2 separate regions of the Homo sapiens genome follow, and region 1 is linked to region 2. The links are contacts of gene promoters, found by promoter capture Hi-C in human tissues and cell types (Jung and others, 2019). All regions are on one chromosome and are shown on one strand. The core of a region is centred on a gene start or on the middle of the fragment in contact, and the rest is flanking DNA. Distances in the headings are between cores, read along the strand shown. Region 1 overlaps PLEKHA7 (pleckstrin homology domain containing A7). Region 2 holds the start of PLEKHA7 (pleckstrin homology domain containing A7).

The links. Contacts are between HindIII fragments. The study calls those that stand out against the background at their distance.
Region 1: a fragment that was not itself captured here is called in contact with the fragment with the promoter of PLEKHA7 in region 2 in 6 of the 25 tissues and cell types used here (H1 embryonic stem cells, heart left ventricle, liver and 3 more).

The regions. Positions count from the first base shown.
Region 1 is chr11:16,934,724-16,940,815 of GRCh38, reverse strand. All of the region lies in intron 3 of PLEKHA7 (pleckstrin homology domain containing A7), which reads left to right. Among named protein-coding and RNA genes, the nearest start is that of SNORD147, 12 kb to the right of the region's middle. RefSeq lists an enhancer at 4,467-4,978. The HindIII fragment of the contact is 5,345 bases long and covers 1-4,998 here.
Region 2 is chr11:17,009,752-17,016,727 of GRCh38, reverse strand. It overlaps PLEKHA7 (pleckstrin homology domain containing A7), which reads left to right and starts at 2,314. Exons shown (of 27, transcript NM_001329630.2): 1 at 2,314-2,412; 2 at 2,527-2,603; 3 at 2,682-2,739. The coding sequence starts at 2,327. RefSeq lists a silencer at 3,612-3,906 and an enhancer at 3,791-4,552. The HindIII fragment of the contact is 16,980 bases long and covers 1-4,698 here.

The DNA of each region.
Region 1 (6,092 bases), core at 1,077-3,576, 76 kb after region 2:
TCCTCCCCTTTTGTTTGCCACTCTGTACTTGCCTATGGAAAGTGAAAAAACAAAGGCACTATGTTGGATTCATTTGTCCTTTAAAAAAACAAACAAAAAAAGGTAATTATCTTCATTTTTGAACACTTACTGGTTATGTCAGGCAGTTTATTCACTTTTAAAGGAACCATTTCTTGAGCATCTACTAGTACAAAGCATCTGTTAGCCACCAGAGAGAAAAACAAAAGAGGCCAGGTGCAGTGGCTCACGCCTGTAATCCCAGCACTTTAGGAGGCTGAGGCGGGCGGATCACCTGAGGTCAGGAGTTCAAGACCAGCAGCCAATCTGGTGGAACCCCGTCTGTACTAAAAATACAAAAAAATTAGCCAGGCATGGTGGCACCTGCCTGTAGTCCCTGCTACTCAGGAGGCTGAGGCAGGAGAATTGCTTGAACCTGGGAGGCAGAGGTTTCAGTGAGCCCAGATCACGCCATTGCACTCTAGCCTTGGGTGACAGAGCAAGACTCTGTCTCAAAAAAAAAAAAAAAAAAAAAAACAGCAGAAGAAAAGATCTGAGATACTTCTCTTCCCTTACCCCAAAATAGTTCTTCCATTTTTTCAGAGTACCTACTATGTGCCAGCCACTGTGCTAGGGGCCAGAGACACAGGGCTGAGAAGACACAAGTGGTACTTCTTCCCCTGGAAGTTACAGCCCAGTAGGGGAGATAGGAATGTTAAAGTTTTGATTGTTTATGAAGAGGGAGACAGATCCACACAGCTAACCCTTCTTGCCCCCAGCACCAGTGGCCCTGGCTTTGGCTTGGCAAATGTGGTACCATTCTCTGAACCATTGGGTTTCTTACTCACTTCCTATGGTGATGTCTGGGTCTCATCAGATCTAGGGGTCAGTGAAATGCAGCTGGTCTGTTACCTCTGCCCAGAGAGCTCAGGGTGAGTCCCCAGTCCCTTCACCCCACACACATTTTCTATCCCAAGGCACCCTTTCACTCTTCATAAACTTTGCAGCAAACCAGAAATTCTCTGGCTCATTAATAGAAGGAAGGCCTTGTTGGGGTGGAGTAGGGTATGTTGCCAAGCTAATTGGTTTGGGGAACATGAGGAGAGAAAACACGAAAAAAATCAGTGGCCCTGAATGATTTACTTTGTGAGTGACAGCATCTGCATAGTTTTAAAACTAGAATCTGTGCATTGCCTGTGCAGTATTTCTTTAACTTTAAGCATTCCTGTCTCACCTCTGCATTTTTGCAATACCCGTGTAGTATTTTTCTTTAAATTGACTCAATAAAAACTAAATACGTAAATTTTTAAAATTTCCTATTATTTTAATTAATCTTCATAGCTTTTATCTATGTTGTATAGCTAATATTCATAGTATATTTTTTCTTTTTATTTTTTTTCTTTAGATAACAGAGCCTTGCTGTGTCACCCAGGCTGGAGTGCAGTGGCACGATCTCGGGTCATTGCAACCTCTGCCTGCCAGACTCAAGCAATTCTCCTGCCTCAGCCTCCCAAGTAGCTGGGGTTATAGGCGTGCACCACCACACCTGGCTAATTTTTTGTATTTTTAGTGGAGACAGGGTTTCACCATGTCGGCCAGCCTAGTCCTGAACTCTTGGCATCAAGATGATCTACCTGCTTCAGCCTCCCAAAGCGCTGGGACTATAGGAGGGAGTCACTGTGTCCAGCTTATAGTATATTTTTTCAAATGTTCTTGCCACATTGTCAAAGATCTTGGGCATCCTTAGGTATTTGCTCCATTTAGGAAGATTCTGCCTAAGAAATTCATGAATATTCCTCTAGGAGATCTTTGAATCTTCTAAAATTCAAAATTGTGTTTATTATTGTAAAAAATTGTGTTTGTGTATTTCTTTCCTGGGAAAGACAGTCCAAAGCTTTATTCAAGCAAGGACCAGAGAAGGGTAAGAGCCACAGTTTGTGGTTTCTTGAATTGTGTCTGATTATTATTTACAAAAATTTCATTTTCCCAGGAAGAGGAACATTGTTGTTGTTGTTTTTTACAAGAAATGGATGTTTTATTCCTAAAGCATTCTATTTTTTAATGAGGTGCAGATAAACTGCACATTGAAAAATGGTCTCTCCCACATCTCTTTCTCATCTCTATTCTGTTTTCGGCCTTCCAACATGTGAATGTTAATCACTATAGGAGGAAGGTGACTATTTTCTGATCCAAAAATCATGATGTATGGTCTGATTAAGGATTTTTATGTATATATCATGCCTTTCAAAGGTATAAAGGGAGAACTTCAGTTACACATTTAATGAATTTTCTTTATTAAAAGAGAAAAATTGAAAAAAAAAGTGAGGGGGGCACCTATCTTAGAATATTGAGAATGTAAGTTCACTAAATGTATTAATAGACCAGTAAATGTTTCAGAGAAAAAAATGAGCACAAGGAAAGCTACTCGTTGGGGCATAAATACATGATAAAGGGGCTATGGGAAAAAGCACCATCATTCTAGATCACACAAATCAAACAGAATGCACCATTTGTATAAATGCAGACGAAGCCACGTGTCTTTCCCTGCTTCTAGGGTAACACACCAGCAAGGGGACACAAAGGGCACCCTGTTCATTCTTTCCATCTCAACCCCTTAACCTTAGGAAGAATATTAGAACATTTGTGTTTGCATCCTGCCTCCTTCCTCTGAAGGTCCATGAACACTAGATACAATGATAAAATAGAAATAGGAATTTGAAATCAGGACTAGGGAAAATATAAGTAAGAGGAAAAGGACAAACCCAGGAGGTTGGGAAGAATACGAAGGCACTCACATTAAGGGTCTGTGTTTCTGCTGAGCTGCACATTTGACTTGGAGCTTCCTGGCAGCCAAAACAAGAAGGAAACAGGGTAAGCTTTCTGGATTTTACTGTTAGAAAAGAAAAACATCGTCTGAGTGCTGTGGCTCACACCTGTAATCCCAACACTTTGGGAGGCCGAGGCGGGTGGATCACCTGAGGTCGGGAGTTCAAGACCAGCCTGACCAACATGGAGAAACACCATCTCTACTAAAAATACAAAATTAGCCAGGCATGGTGGTGCATGCCTGTAATCCCAGCTACTCAGGAGGCTGAGGCAGGAGACTCGCTTGAACCTGGGAGGTGGAGGCTGCAGTGAGCTGAGATGGCGCCATTGCACCCCAGCTTGGGCAACAAAAGTGAAACTCCATCTAAAAAAAAAAAGAAAAGAAAAACATCCTAGTTAAGGGATAGCTAAGTGCTTCCTAGTTTGTTTCTTTAAGTTAAATTTCTTATAAACAAGGTCCTCTTCAACTTTCTTCTTTGTCTTATTCACTCCTCATTATATGGCTCCTCAGACTGGGCCAATTTCTCAATTTAGGTGGCTATGATACAGATGGTCGTATACCTCTCTTCTGTAGTGTTTATCATAGATGTACATTCTCATGTGCTTAGATGATTATTTTGAAAGCTTGTGTTCTCTACTAGACTATATACCTCATGAGACTTGGGCCATATTGTCCTCAGTGCCCAGCACAATCTTGGCACATGGTATACCCTCAATAAATATTTGTTAGAACAAATGAATAAGGCCAAAGCATTCAGGGATTTTATGTGACTGATTCTTGTAGTGTCTTCCCAGGAAATCAAGGCCCTTTCAAGCGTGCAAACTGTCTCTTGTCCAGAGAGCTTGGTGGCCATCTCCAAGCTCATTTTACTCCACGGTTATTAACAATTTGGAGATTGTTAATAACAACGACTCCAGGTTATTAACCTGCTATAAATCCAATCCTGTAATTGGTACTTGATACATGTTGCTGGTAGTCCTCAAAGATGAGGGAGACTGAGGCTCAGGGGGAGGGAAACAGCTTGCCCAAGGTCACATTGCTGGAAGGCATGCTCTTTCCTTTCTGCCTGCTGTTTCTGAGCCAGAGCTACAAGTGTCTGTGTGAGTTATGGGTTCTTATCTCTTGGCAATTAGAGCAGCTCAGCAAAGGTATTTCTGGCACAGGCCATTGCTGCTTTCTGACAGCTGCTACATTCCAATATCGCCTGAGTTTAGGGAAAAGAAAGCCCACACCTGGGGTTGGCAAAGATAGTCTCAGAACTCATTTTCCCTGGTTTCTGCACATGGTGAATGTGTTTATTGTTCTTGTCACACTGTCTCCTGAAGTGCAGATGCATTAAAGTTGAATATTATTTTCATAAAAGCCACTGGAGAGAAAGGGAGAGAAGAGGCATGATTCGGGTGTCTCCAGGAATATAATTGGATTTGCCCAATGATTGGGAGAGTGGAGGTGGGAAATGACAACATGCCAGGAAGTACATTTGATGGTGCTTTTGATTCCAAATTTGTTAGGCATGTGTTTTTAATTGCTTTGTCCCTGTTGTCATTATTCTAATAGAGACCTGATTTTTTTTTTTTTTTTTTTTTTTTTGAGACAGAGTCTCACGCTATTTCCCAGGCTGGAGTACAATAGCATAAGCTCGGCTCCCTGCAACCTCCGCCTCCCGGGTTCAAGCAATTCTCCTGCCTCAGCCTCCCGAGTAGCTGGGATTACAGGCACCTGCCACCACGCCTGGCTCATTTTTTGTATTTTTTAGTAGAGACAGGGTTTCACTATGTTGGCCAGGCTGGTCTTGAACTCCTGACCCTGTGATCCGCCCACCTCGGCCTCCCAAGGTGCTGGGATTACAGGCATGAGCCACTGTGCCCTGCAGAGACCTGATTTTTCAAAAGGGGTTCATTATCATATTAAACTTTCTCTATTCAGCAAGGTTGGCAAATGGGATGTTCTCCTGGCTCAGTGTTGCCACCTACCGTGTGCTGCATAGATTGTCAGTCTTCAAAATATTAGAAGGCAGTAAAACACATTTCAAACTGCAACAAGGCATAATTTGATCCGTCTGTTCTTCCACAAGGTTGCAAGTCTTCAGGGTGAACATTATAAGCATCTGTCATCACTGTGTGCTCTTGGAGTGCCAAGATACTGGTTATAGTGAATTCTGGTGATAAAAAAAATGCTAGACAAAAATACCACTTTTTCTTTGGTCCCTTGAGAATGAGCCTCAAAAACATGTGCTGCTTGCACATGGGGATCTGAATAATTGCAACATTCAGGATTATGTAGAGAGAGTATCCCTGAAGAAGGCACTTAGGGTGGTGTTTGCAAATGTCACAAGGCTTTCAGTTCTATCTTTGGCCCCCTAGTCTCAGTAAGGATTTTGGCTCATATCAGTGATTTGGAAAACCTAATAACTTTTATGTCTCCAAAGTTGTGTTTCCAGACTGCTGGCTATTTCATATTTTAAAGCATGTTTCTACCTTTAAAAGGACACCAGAGAATAGCAGTGGGCACTGACATGCCTTTACCCCTCCCCACACTAGAAAAGGACCGACACATTTAATCTTTTTTTTGAGACGGAGTCTCACTCTGTCACCCAGGCTGGAGTGCAATGGCACGATCTTGGCTCACTGCAACGGGTTCAAGCGATTCTTCTGCCTCAACCTCCCGAGTAGCTGGGATTACAGGCATATGCCACCATGCCCAGCTAATGTTGTATTTTTGTGGAGACGGGGTGTCACCATATTGGCTAGGCTGGGCTTGAACTTCTGACCTCAGTTGATCTGCCTGCCTTGTCCTCCCAAAGTGCTGGGATTACAGGCGTGAGCCACCATGCCCAGCCTCACATTCGATATTTATTTGTGGATAGATTTAGGTTCTTTTTCCCAATTTCCCCACAGTAGCTTTGACAAGTCTTATTTGGAAGAAGTAACACAGTTACTGAACTGGCGTCTTGTTCCTAGTTTGAATGGTAAGAGCCAGAAAATCGCCCATTCACATGTAGTACATTAAGATTTCACCTACTTTCCCCAGAAATTATTGTTTAGGCAATTAGGGACAGAAAAGTATGAAAAATACAGGTGCTAATTATAACCAGACTCTTTTTTTTACTGTAAGAGATAAAAATTTCAAAGTATTTTACATATTAATTAGGATATTTCCTCCCCTTAACCTCTAATTAATATCCACAGTAAACAACCTTTATTAATTACATGAATCTGAACATTTAATATCCAGGAATATGAAGACCATACACTGAGTATTCATTTAT
Region 2 (6,976 bases), core at 1,065-3,564:
CCTGCCTCAGCCTCCCAAGTAGCTGGGATTACAGGCATGCACCACCATGCCCAGTTAATTTTTGTGTTTTTAGTAGAGACAAGGTTTCACCATGTTGGCCAGGCTGGTCTCGAATTGCTGATCTCAAGCGATCCACCCGCCTCAGCCTCCCAAAGTGCTGGGATTACAGGCGTGAGCCACCACGCCTGGCCAATATCTTTTCTAATTTATCTTTTCCAATCTGACATCTAAAAAAATAGTATTTCACCGTAAGTTGCAGTTCTTCTATTATGAAGTGGCTCAGTATCTTTTCATTTGCTTAAAAGTTATCTGTATTACTTTTCTATTAACTGTGGGTTCATACCCTTTGCCCATTTAATGTATTATTTAAAATCAATGTTTAGCTAGCAAAACACCGCTTTCCTATTTTCATTTGCTCAACAACCTCCTCAGAGGCAGGAGGTTCCTTCAGACAGGTGTCCCCCGTCCTCTGCAACCAGTTACCTCTTCTAACTCATAAATGCCTCCTTCCCCAACACCACTGTCTGTTCCCAAGGAAGGGCCCCTTTATGGTCTCATCAACATCTCACAGCCCTCCCAAAATTATGTGCATGCTCTCCCATCCCTCCCCTCTGGAGTGCTCTTTTCCCAGTCAAACCTAACCAGTCCTTCAGGGTCCAGCCTAATTCCACCTGTTTGGGCACCTTTCTGAATAACTAGTGCTCACATTGCATACAGTCTCACTTTCAGGCGCGCCTCCTCCCATCAATCAGAGCCTATGTCCCGAGAAGGCTGGGCCTGACAACAGCTGGAGCCCAGCTGCTGCTCTGTCTTTGCTCAGTGTGTGTGTGTGTGTGTGTGTGTGTGTGTGGCCGGGAGTCTGAGTGTGGAGTATGTTTCATTCACTCATCCTGCAGTTTTTTTTTTTAGACTGAGTCTCGCTGTTGCACAGGTTGCAGGGCAGCGGCGCGATCTCGGCTCACTGCAACCTCTGCCTCCCTGGTTCAAGCGATTTTCCCGCCTCAGCCTCCTGAGTAGCTGGGATTACAGGCGCCCGCCACCACGCCCGGCTAGCTTTTGTATTTTTTTGGTAGAGACGGGGTTTCACCATGTTGGCCAGGCTGGAATAGAACTCCTGACCTCAAGTGATTCACCCGCCTCGGCCTCCAAGAGTGCTGGGATTACAGGCCTGAGCCACCGTGCCCCACCCCATCCTACAGTTATTGAATGCGTAATGCATACATGAGTCAGGTGCTGTTCCAGGCATTGGAGACCAGGCAGTGTATGAGGTAGATCAAAGCCCCTTCTCTCATCCAGCTGACATGTTGGAACTAATATACAACAAACAAGACAAACACAAATATCAATTAAATGTAAACAAGTAATGAAATAGCGAGGGAAGGAGGGGAAGGATTTTCTTTGCAGAGGGCTCAGGGAGGGCTCCCCGAGGAGATAAGATAGGAGTAAAGACCCGAATATGAGAGGGTGCCGCCACTGCAAAGAGCTTTGCAGGGCCCCCTAGAGGCCCCGCCTGGCCACCGCTCTTCCAGAGATGGACGTGCTGCCGAGCCCTCAAAACCCCTTTTTTCTGTTACTTGACAGAAACTGAAGGCAAGAGCTTGCGATCCCTGCAACCTCAGTGGTGTGTGGCGGTAACCCTGCTCCCTCCTGTTTCACATCCCAGCTGAAAACTTGGGAAAATGAAATCGCGCTCGGCCTGCCGTTGATAGAGCACCTACTACATGCCATGGTCCGGTTAAGCACTTTATGCGATTGTTACTTCATTTAATCTACACAACAATCCCGTGTGGACTCGATTAACCTTACAGGGGAAGAGAAGGAGGCTGGGAATATGGCAGGAACCTGAGTGTTAACTTGGTTCACACACAAGCGGAGTTCCCGGGTCGGGAAGTTCTGTGGTGCGGGTCGGCTGGGGTTTACTGAGCGTTCGGGCGCTCGCCGTTTTCGGAGTTGGTCGGGTCCAACCGCGCGCCCCGAAGCTGCCCAGGCGCGCCCGCCAGCGGCCCCCGCCAGCGGCCCCCCGCGCCGCCCGGGTCTCCCGGCCTCGGGGGCAAAGGGGAGCGCCGGTGCCAGCAGGCTGGGGGCGGGGAAGGCTCGGGGACAAAGGCCGCGGGCACTGCGCTGGGTTGGCCGGAGCGGCTGCGAACTCCGGGCGCCAGGACCCGGCCGGGCGGTCGCTCCCTCAGGAGCCCGCGCCTGGATGGAGCGCCTCGCGGCGCCGCCGGGCCACGCGCAGGCCGAGCCCCCGCCACCGCCCCCGCCTCCGCCCCTGCCCGCGCCCCCGCCCCCTCCCCCCCACCCCGCGGCGGCTCCGCGCTCGGCGAACATGGCGGCGGCGACGGTCGGGCGGGACACTTTACCTGAGCATTGGTCCTACGGGGTGTGCCGGGATGGCCGCGTCTTCTTCATCAAGTGCGGCGCGAGGACCCGGGGACGCGGGGACGCGGGTGGGGGCGCGGGGGCGGGGGCCGGGCGGGCACCCGGCGGGCTGTGGCGGCGCTAACAGGTGCACCTCTCTGCCCGCAGTGACCAGCTCCGCTGCACGACCTGGCTGCATCCGCGCACCGGGGAGCCCGTCAACTCGGGCCACATGATCCGCTCAGGTGGGCGCCGGGCCGGCGGGTGGGGGGCGCGCGCAGCGGCGGCCCAAGTTTGACCCGACTTTTCTGGCGTTTCCGCAGACCTGCCCCGCGGCTGGGAGGAGGGCTTCACGGAGGAGGGCGCCAGCTACTTCATCGAGTGAGTGAGTGGGGCCGCCGCGCTCGCACCTGTGCCGCGGGGGGGGGGTCCCTCCCCGTTCCCGCCGGGCGCCCCGCCCTTCCTCTGCTCCCGCCGGCCCGGGCTCGTTGGCGCGCGCTGCGCCGCGGCCACACTCAACGTTTTGTGTGCCCAAGTTGTTTGGCGGCCTCCGAGAGGAAGGCGGTGGGGGCCGCACCTACGCTGGGGACCTGGGCCGGGGGGGAAGAGGCCGCAGACTCTGCGCCCTGGACCTTGCAATCCGGCTGGATTCGGGTGCTGGTGTGCGGGCTGGGCACGCCTCCCCTCTAGGGTCTGGGGCTGCGCCCCGCCGGGAGAGGCGAGTGCCGGGACCTGGATGGGCTCGGGTGGGAGGAGTAGAACGAGAAGTTCTGTCCTGGTGTGGGCCTGCGGGGTTGGAGTGGGGAGAGGGAGAGACTAGGGGAATCTCGCTTAGGAGGACGCCCCCTCTCCCGCCGCAGGCTCTGGGATGGTCTTGGAGAGTCGGAACCTCGCCCCCGGCCTCCATCCACTGCGCGGGCCTGCGGGGAGGGAGGGGGTGGGGAAGGGAACTGGTCAACCAATGACTTTCCTCGAGCGCTCCGCGTCTCTTCGGCCGGAGCTGAACCGGGGGATTGCTGGTGCTTCCGTTAGTCCACGGGCGACTTTTCCGCAAAAGCCCCGGAGTGTTGGCGCACCAGCCAGGTTACCCTGGGTCTGTAGGATCAGTCCATGTCAGATTGGGGCGCAGTAAGTGAAGGCGCGGGTCAGGCTCCTATGCCAGTACAGGCTTTGCTTTCCCACTCCGGCGGGAGTCTGTGTTGCAGCGTGTTTCCCTCTGCCTGCTGAGCTCCGGGAGGCCAGACACTGCCTTTGACCCCTTGCCCCAGTGCCGGACAGCAAGTAGGCACTCGGTAAATGTTTGTTCACTGAATGAATCAGCTCGCCAAAGGTCTGGACGGTGGTCTGACTAGTACTGACTGGGTGTACCTCGGCGACTGTGAGTCAGAACTACTACTGTTAGGAATAAAGCAGCCTATTTCAAGAAAACCCCGGAACCTCCTTTTCTGGTTTGGGTTCTTGCATAATAGTTGAAAATACTGATGGGTGAGATTTACAGACCTAAGGACTAGGGCCTTGCTGCGGTTCTATTGCCCTGCCTCATATGTGTGTATGTGAAGTTGGGGAGTTGGCTGGGGCCATCAGAGTCTTGCTGTCAGTGGGCCTCTCTGGCTCATAACTGCATCAGTTGATGTTATTACAATTTTCCTGTGTGCCACACGTTCACACGTTGTTCTAGGCATTGGGAACAAAAAACAGAAAAGTTCTAGGTGCTCATGGAGCTTGCAATCTAATAGGAGAGGGAAGGGAGTAGAAAATAAGTAAAAAACACAAATAATAATATCAGATCGTGGTTACTACTGTGCAGAAAGTTAAAATAAGGTGATGTGACATGGAGTGACTGGGTGGCTTGGTTGTACTGGGAGATCGGGATGGTGTTTCTGAATAGGCAACATTTAAAGTAAAATTTGAATGACAAGAAGGAGACATCATGTGATGATGAGTTGGCAAAGCATTTCGGGAAGAGCGAACAGCCAGGGCAAGGGCTTAAGGCAGAAAAGAGCTTGGAGTTTAAGGAGCAGGAAGGCTGGAATGTGGTGCACAAGGGAGAAAGTGGCATGAGGAGAGGTCACAGGTAGGAGAAAGGTAAATGCCGCAAAGCTTTGTGAGCCGGGGTGAGGAATTTTCATACTTTATTCTAAGCCCAGTGAAACGTCATTGGAGGGTTTTAAGCAGGGAAATGGCATGATTTGGTGTGTGTTTTTAGAACGATCACTGTGAGGAGATTGGATTGTAGGTGGCCACTGCAGGGGGAGGCAGGAGAGCAGCTGAGGCTGTTGCCCTCTTCCAGGCAGGAGTTAGAAGTGGCTTGCCTGAGGGTGGTAGCACAGTAGACAGGGAGTAGTGGTCACATTCAGGCTGTGTTTAGGAAATAGGCTCTTCACACCTTCATGATGGACTGAATAGTCTGTGGGAGAAAGAGAAGAGGCAAAGATGACTCCTCAGGGCTTGGGCACCTGAGTGGATAGCATTCATATCGTTGAGATGGGAAGAGCCGGTTTGGGGTGGAGGAGAATCATGAGATCTTGTTTTGCCATCTTACATTTGAGATATGAGTATGTCAGATAGTGTGATCTGAAGCTTGGTGGGGAGAGAGGACAGAAGAGACCCATTGGGTATAATAGATGTTATTCAAGGCCATGGGATTAGATGAAATCCCCTAGGAAGAGAGTACAGACAGAAGAGAGATGTTCTGAGGCTTTGGATGGTCAAAGCAGTGTTTAGAGGGGTGAGAGGTGAAGCCAGCAAGGAGACTGAGAAGGACTGAGAAGGTAGGAGAAACCCCAGGAGAATGCATGGTCACAGAAGCCTTAAAGGACAAAATCTGACTGGAGTAGGTGGAAGATAAAACACGGGGTGAAGACAGGGAGTCAGTTAGGCAAATCTTCCAGGTAGTTTTGTTGCAAAGTGGAGTTGAGACATTAGCCGGTAATTGGAGAGGATGTGGGTTTGAGGGAGGGTTCTTTTTTTTGGTGGGAGATTGTACAGCATGTTTGTTTTGATGGGAATGATCCCACTGAGAGGAAGAAGTCGATGCTGCAGTAAAGAGACGGGGCAGTTGCTGGAGCAGTGTTTCTAAGAAGGTGAGAGGGATGGGATCCATGGCCTGCATCTCACTAGCGTCACCCAGGGGCAGGGCCCATCATTCATTTGGCGGGAGGAAGGGCTGCAAGTGTCCCAAAGTACCAGGTGCAGCCTTGGGCTGGGTGTGTGAGGCCGCGTGTGGGACTCTGGAGGCTGGAGCACAGCCTTCCACACCTTTGCTGACTCTTCCATGGTAACTTGTCTGTGAGGTCCCTAATGATTTTCCTACAGTGAGCTCCTGTGCCCCCAGGGCCTTGGCTGACTCCTCCCAGGCCTAGAAAAAGCAATGTGTGACAGTGTTCCCTACCCTCAAAGGCAGGGCCCTGTGGCAGGTGATTGTACTTCTGACGTCCTTCTGTGACAATTTTTTGAGAGACTTAAGGGTTTTGGGAGTAATTGTTCTCTCCCTCATCCCCCGCCCCCCACATGAAAAATGTTTTACTGTTGTCTGATTTCTTAGCTTTGCCGTGAGCATTTCTGAATGTTTGATTTTTGTGTTGAGGGCAGGAGCCTCCTCTAATCTGGCTCATAAAGTGAGAGCGACAAAGCATTGACATGGCTGATTTTATTTTTCCTAATGGCTCCTTGCACAGGAAAGTTGTGTGAGGTTTTACAGGATGTATTCAGTTGCTCCTCATATTTAGCAGATTAAAACATTTTAATTTTTGAAAAAATTTTAAGAAACAGAATCTTCCTCTGTCTCCTAGTCTGGAGTGCAGTGGTGCAATCATAGCTCACTGCAGCCTTGAACTCCTGGGGCCAAGTGATCCTCTCACTTCAGCCTCCCAAGTAGCTGGAACTACAAATGCAGGCCACCATGCCTGGCCAGCAAATGTTTTAATACTCTCCAGAGTCCATTTCTTTTCTTTCTTTTCTTTTTCTTTCTTTTTTTTTTTAAAGACAGCTTTGCTCTGTCGCCCAGGCTGGAGTGCAGTGGCACGATCTCAGCTCACTGCAACCTCTGCCTCTTGGGTTCAAGTGATTCTCATGCCTCGGCCACCCCCTAAGTAGCTGGGACTACAGGTGTGCACAACCATGACTGGCTAATTTTTGCATTTTTAGTAGAGACAGGGTTTCACCATGTTGGCCAGGCTGGTCTCAAACTCCTGACCTGAAGTGATCCGCCTGCCTCAGCCTCCCAAAGTGCTCGGATTACAGGCATGAGCCACTGTGCCTGGCCTCGGAGTCCATTTCTTGAAGCAGAAAAGCTTGAGGTTAGGCAGGTGAATTTTTGTTTTGATTTCTGCACTTTTTGTTCAATTTTGCATTAATGAGGGACAAAATGTATAAGAAATCTACTGTTGGTTCTCCCAGTTCTAGACTAAGTGATGTTGATAACCCCTTTAAAAAGATTTTTTGGCTGGGTATAGTGGCTCATGCCTGCAATTCCACACTTTGGGAGGCGGAGGCGAGGGGATCACTTGAGGCCAGGAGTTCAAGATCAGCCTGGGCAACACGGAGAGGCCTCATCTGTACAAAAAATGAAAAAATTAATGGTGGTATGCTCCTGTAATCCTAGCAACTTGAGAGGCTT